Regions from separate parts of the Homo sapiens genome. Here region 1 is linked to region 2. Evidence: promoter capture Hi-C in 16 types of primary human blood cells and fetal thymus (Javierre and others, 2016). All regions are on one chromosome and are shown on one strand. The core of a region is centred on a gene start or on the middle of the fragment in contact, and the rest is flanking DNA. Distances in the headings are between cores, read along the strand shown. Region 1 holds the start of HELB (DNA helicase B). Region 2 holds the start of RXYLT1 (ribitol xylosyltransferase 1).

Region 1 (3,451 bases), core at 952-3,451, 2.5 Mb before region 2:
CGTTCTTCTCTACCTCTTTAAACAGAATCATTTACAACTGATTTTTTTTTTTTTTTAACTGAGACGGTGTCTCACTCTCACCTAGGCTGGAGTACAGTGGTGCAATCATGGCTCACTGCAGCCTCCATTTCCTAGGCTCAAGTGATCCTCCTGCCTCATCCTCCCAAGTAGCTGGGACTACAGGTATATATCACCACACCTGGCTAATTTTTAAAAAATTTTTTGTAGAGACAAGGTCTCACTACATTGCTCAGGCTAGTCTCGATCTCCTGCGCTCAAGTGATCCTCCTGCCTCAGTCTCCCAAAGTGGGATTACAGACGTGAGCAGCTACCACACCTGGCCAGCAACTGAATTTTTTTTTATTAATGATTCAAGGTAATCGCTGTGAATACAAAAGTTAGAAAGAGAGATTAAAATCACAGTTTTAGAGGTGGAAAGGAACTGGAAGATTTTAAAGATCAGCTCATATAATCCCTTCATGCTACAGATGAGAAACCTGAAATGTCAATGGCATACTCCAAAAGCAACATAAACACATTTTTCACCAAATGGATTTTTAAAAAGAATACTATGCTAGTGGTAACATTTTAAACACTGTAGTTATTAAGTATGTCAATTACACTGAAAGTTGATGATAAAAATCACACTTACTTGTGTTTTCCAGAGGAAGACTCATCTCATTGTCTAGGAACAACTCTTCCTGACCATTCTGTGTAGGCTGCTTTTGATCTTTCCTTCCAGTTTCCTTGTGGAAAGTTCTTAGTGTTTCCCTAAGATTTTCAAAGTTTAGGTTTTTGTAGTTTGATACCTCCTTTACCCATGTTAAAAATTTATTAACATCATCACTGGAGACCTCACACTCTTTAAGAAAGAGAGCACAGATATGTTTTTGATTTGGTGGTGACATATCAGACTGCAAAAAGTAAGACGGAAATCCTTGAACTTGATATTGATAGCTCCTTGATCCCACCACAGGCTTTACTTGTACCTTCACTCTCCACCAAGCACCTGTTATCGGAAAACGTCCAAACACTTTACATGTCTCTTGTGTGTTTTCATCACAAATAGAAACTAAAAAAAAACAAACAAAAACCCACAAAAGTTAACTCTGGAGATTATTTAGAAACCGTTTCCTCAAAGTTTCATCAAACTTACCACTATCTTTAATCTCCCTACAGCACTCTCTAAAGATGTCTGGTAGGGTGCCTGTAACACTGCATTCTGCCTACCTCTTTTTCTGTCTCCCTCCACTACACTGTAAATACTAAAACAGGACACTGTTTCGTTTGTCTTTGTATTCCAAAACGCAAGCACAGTACACAGCAGGTGTCTGCTGTTCCTCTTCTAAAATCAGTCCCCTCTCTGCTACTCTTGACTTCAGCCAATACTGGCCTTCATGCAGTTTCTTTAAAATGCCATGGCCCTTCACTCAAGTTATTCCATCTGCCTTAACTGATCTCCCCTTTACTGTTTACTACATTTACTACAGACCTCAGCTTAACTATCACTTACTTAGAAAAGTCTTCCCTGAATCTCATGTATAAAACCTCTCAAAGCACTATTTAGCATTCCTTCTAAGCATTTAGTAACATTATAGTTACTTCTGTGATTAAAGAATGTTTGTTTAATACACTAGAGGGTAAGCTTCATTAAGACTGCAACCTTGTTATTTTATTTCTCTAGGTTTTCCCAGCACCAAACATGCTAGCCAGTTGATGATACTTTAGAATGACGACTAAGCCCTCCACAAATACTTGAAACTTTTCTGCCTAAATCTGCGCTGTCCACCCACGTGGCTATTTAAATTAAAATGTAATAAAACTTAAAATTTCTCTCCTCAGTTACACTAGCTGGATTTCAAGTTCTAAACAGCTACATATGGCTAGTGGCTATTATACCAGACAGTGCAGATATAAAACACTGCCATGATCATGGAAAGTTCTACTGAACAGCACCGGTCGGCACATTAAAATATTTTAAGTCTCAGTCACAAAGTATACATAACAGGTATAACTTATAGCACAGGAAACTACCTCATAGCACAGGAAACTACTTATACAAGGTTTACCCGAACCACAAGGTTACTAACACCAATTAACAATCATCTGTGCACTGAGGTGTTCCTTGTGTTTCGTTTTTCTTTTTCTTTTCTTTCCTTTTCGTTTTTTGAGATGGAGTTTCATTCTTGTTGCCCAGGCCGGAGTGCAATGGTGTGATCTCAGCTCACTGCAACCCCCACCTCCTGGGTTCAAGCAATTCTCCTGCCTCGGCCTCCCAAGTAGCTAGGATTACAGGTGTGCGACATCACGCCCGGCTAATTTTGTAGTTTTGTTGTTGTTGTTGTTGTTTTACTAGAGACAGGTTTCACCATGTTGGTCAGGCTGGTCTCGAACTCCTGACCTCAAGTGATCCACCTGCCTCGGCCTCCCAAAGTGCGTGAGCCACCGCGCCCGGACTGTTTTGTTTTTCCAAGAAGCTGAGGAAGAACCACGTATTTGACTCCAGGCAATATAGGATAATAATTACAAGTTCTCATTCTATAGAACTTGAGGATAAGTGGTCAGAAGGAAAAATAAAAGTTCCGATTCTGGGTGGAAATAGAGACTCAACATCCACTGTTTCCTTAAGCGTAAAACTACCTTACATTAAAGGTACATTAAATTAAAGGACGACCATTAAAATGAGAATAATTTTAAAAAAAAAAAAAAAAAAAAAGGGCAACCCGCTCGGGTCCCCTTCCACACTGTAGAAGCTTTGTTCTTTCGCTCTTTGCAATAAATCTTGCTGCTGCTCAAAAAAAGAAAAAAAAAAAAAAACCACATAGTATGTGTCCAGTTAAAGTCACTGCTATTATTATAGTCATAATTTTACCCTTGGTAGGATGAAGCAGCTAGACCACTGATAAGCTAAATCTGTTAGCACGACTGGGTGCCTTGCTCAGGGCAAAGCCAGAATGGGAAGCGCTACTTTGGACCCTCCAACCCCATCCCCCGGGCAGACGCCTTCCTCACCGCGGAGGCACCCGGGGAGGCTGCCAGCCTTTACGCCCCCACTGCAGAGCTCCTCGGCGTCGATGAACACGGACTCTTCATCCTCCTCCACGTCGTCGTTTAGGTAGTCGTCGTCCTCCTCCACCAGATCCCTGGGTGGGAGCAGAGGTCCCTGAAGTTGGCGCAGGTACGGACTCGACCTGGCCATGCTTCTCCTGAACTCAACCCAAACAACTCGGGAAAACCCTGGCTAACTGCATGGTCATGATCAGCCAATCAGTTCTACGACTGTAAGGCCATCAACTTCCGGGAACGGCCTGGCGGCCGCCAGCGTACATAAAACCTGAAAGGCAGCGAAGCTCCGCCCCAAGTTTCCAGGAATTGCCGAGGGGAGGGCATGTGGAAGGGGCGGGGCAAGGCGGGTTAGGGGCGGGGAAGGGAGAGCGAGGGGCTGGGAGAT
Region 2 (3,135 bases), core at 458-2,957:
ATTAAAGGCTCTTGAGAAAGGCCTGCAATGAAGAACCTTGTTTAACTTTGTACTCTTCAGTGTTTCCCAAATGTGTTTGGCCATCAAGGGCAGGGGCCACATCTTATACTTGTGTATCAAGTGTCCAAAAAATACACAGATTCATGAAAATTCAGTTGACATATGCATTGCAATCTAATGACACTATACAGCCTACTCAATGTATCAATAAATGAAGCTGTGCTCTGCTAAAGACCAACAGTGGAATATGTATGTGTGTACATTTACAAACAGATGTTGTCTAATTGGAAGGAGAAAGGAATTATTGACAAAAAGCGAAAAAATATATCATGATGCCTTAATTAACAAATTATGAAATAAATTATATTAAAATGAATTTCATATCAATAAAATACATTTTATAATGCTTTTTACATGTCTTCCTTCTACGTATTAACTTACCAATGGCAGCTTTGCCCCAGATTTGTACACTGAGATCTGTTTTTCCTTTCGTGGATTTATCTAATATTTGAAGGCTAGTTTTAAATCTGTGTTGTTGCTCATTTTTTTCATCTCCTTCCCAAGGATTCCATTCTTCACTTTCCAAAGTGGACTGTTCTGTTTTAAAAAGAGTAAGTGTTTACCAGTAAGGTATTATTGCAGTTGTAGGTAAATTCAAATCATTTAAATTAAGTGTTAGTTCTAATTTCATCCTAACTTTAATTTCTGAGAGGTACAGCAACTGAATTTAAACTGGTAATACACAATGAAAACAAAAAAGAAAATCAGCAATTTTTTTACTGAACTTTTTTTACTCTGAAAAGTCTTAGAAATAAAATGCTACCTTGAGACAGGAAAATTCTCTTCCCCAACACAAAACCTTTAAAAATAACAGGATAATATGTATCAAGTTACAAGCTTAACTTTTGCAATTATTTTTATCCATTGTATACAGGTAACCTATGCACAAAAAACTGACTTCAGAGTGTAGTGTTCACCAGTCTTAGATACTATCGTGCAAAATTCTGAATAAAGGGAAAGAGAAAGCCGAGTCTGATCTTAACACAAGTTAAAACACAGGACAGGGGACCAGAATTTGGAGGTAAAGTCTGCCTTATGGTCACTGCAGGATTAGAGAGGGCTTTGTTTCAACATGGAAACGGATGTCTTAAACCTTGCGGCGATTTTGAGGCCTTCCAGGAGCATTCCCGCAAATCTCTGGCATTTGAGACGACGTCTTGGATTTTAACACGTGTTTGAAAGGCGTGCGCGCCTGTCACCCCCTGGGATCGGGAGCGGGGACGGCGTGTGAGATCTGGGTAAGAATGAGGACCATTCTCCAATTCCGAGCCAAGGGCTGGCTCGAGAGGCTGTAGGGGGCAAAGCGCTTCTCAGGCCCTGCGGGTAATCCCGGACTTGAGAGCCGGGTGCGGGGACCCGGCCCCAGCCGCCCAGCAGCCCCAGCCAGGAGCGCAGAGCCGGAAGGAAGCCGCCGACCCAGTCCTACCTCGGCCGCGTCTCTCCCGCGCGGGGGCCGCCCCCTTCCTGAGGCCCCGCGGGGACCCGGCCGGCGCCTGGCGGCGGCGCCCGAAGAAGACGTGGTAGGCAGCGTAGAGGGAGAATAGGCAGTACAGGGCGATAAGAAACGAGCAGAGCCGCTTCCGCGTCAGCCGCATCCCACTCGGGCTTCCAGTCAGGCATCCACCGCCATGGAGCGGGCGGAAAGAGAATCCGCGACACCGGCGGCGTCCGAGGCAGGCCCAGCCCGTTTCCAGGCAGTCCCCAGCCAAGGCTCCTCCGCCCAGCGCCCGGTACAGCCCCGCCCCGGACACGCCCACCGCCCGCCTCCCGCCCAGGCCCCGCCCCCTCCAGTCGCGGCTCATCCACCCGGCCGAGGGCCTGCCCACCTTCGACACTGGAGGAGGGGGTACTGGAGCGGCCCCTACCCCACGCTGCTTCCAGACGCCGGGCTGAGTGGGAACCTCTCTGACCTCTGCCGTGTACTCATTGCACCTTTCAACCCTGGCCACTTTTCCCAAGTACATAAAGACTCGGGGGAAAAAGAACACCCGCGGTGGTCCATGAAGGCCATGTGAAGGCATGGACTGTGACGTTTTTTGCTCTGCATGGAATCCCTAGCGCCTAGGACAGTGCCTACTACGTTGATAGATGAGTGAATATAAACGTCCTTTAAAAAAATTAAGTGATGATGGTCGCTTAACATTGTGAATGTAATTAATACCACTCACTTGTATGCATAGAAATAGTTAAACTGTCGAATTCATGTTTTATATACCTTACTGCAATAAAAACATTTTTAAAGTTAAGTTTCATTATTATGTGAGTTGAACGCACATAGGCATGCAGTATTTTGTCAAATAGAGGCTGTAAATGTGAATGCTTCAGAAAACTTTGTATCCAGCCTTGGGAAGATGGGCTACAATGTTTTGTCAGTTGCTCTGGTACTACTGTTCAAATTACCCAGCAGTCTTGCGACGGTATGTCTGCTAATTAGGGTGACCAATGGTCCCAGTTTGCCCAGGACTGTAAGGATTCTCCAGTTGGAGGATTTTTAGTGCTAAAATTGAGAAAGTCCTAGGAAATCAGTAAAATTGGTCACTCTAGCACCGACCCTAAACTATTAGGTCAAACACTTTACCCAATCCCCCAAACAGTTCCCTGCCTCAAAAGACCTGTTTTAAACCATTTTTGCTCAGACTCCCCAAATCCTATAAATATCACCCCCAACCTTCTCCTTCTGAGACTGCCAAGCTTCTGTCAAAGTGTGGCCTCCCTTACTGTAGTAGATTTAATAAATTTAGCTTTCCTTGATTAACAGGCTATTCTGGTGTCTTAGGGAGATGGCAGTTGTTTTATGTATGCTGTATTGTTGTTTATCCTATTTTGTTTGTTTGTGGAAATGACAATTATTTAAGGATAGGAAGTAATTACCTTATAATTACCACAAAACACCCACTGTATCAATGTACATTCAGATGCTACTGACTAATGGTTTTACTATTGAGAAATGCATACAAGGTAAAACTAATATGCAGTTGATGTCATCTTGAATAGGGGAGAGGGCCATGAAAATGAAGGAGTTGTTTTACCTCAAACTGCAAATGACTGCATAATTTGATGATAAGCTTTTAAAAA

Evidence for each region. The method cuts DNA at HindIII sites, captures the fragments that hold promoters and counts their contacts. A CHiCAGO score of 5 or more calls a contact.
Region 1: a contact is called between a fragment that was not itself captured here and the fragment with the promoter of RXYLT1 in region 2, in 2 of 17 cell types (total CD4 T cells and total B cells). The highest score is 7.0, in total CD4 T cells.

Annotation. Positions count from the first base shown.
Region 1 is chr12:66,302,352-66,305,802 of GRCh38, reverse strand. HELB (DNA helicase B) reads right to left here and starts at 3,310. Exons shown (of 13, transcript NM_001370285.1): 1 at 3,013-3,310; 2 at 653-1,072. The coding sequence starts at 3,199. RefSeq lists enhancers at 1,980-2,289, 2,320-2,419, 3,051-3,130, 3,191-3,240. The HindIII fragment of the contact is 1,108 bases long and covers 1,648-2,755 here.
Region 2 is chr12:63,778,481-63,781,615 of GRCh38, reverse strand. RXYLT1 (ribitol xylosyltransferase 1) reads right to left here and starts at 1,707. Exons shown (of 6, transcript NM_014254.3): 1 at 1,487-1,707; 2 at 442-597. The coding sequence starts at 1,655. RefSeq lists silencers at 1,339-1,638, 1,367-1,642, 1,659-1,888. The HindIII fragment of the contact is 1,854 bases long and covers 900-2,753 here.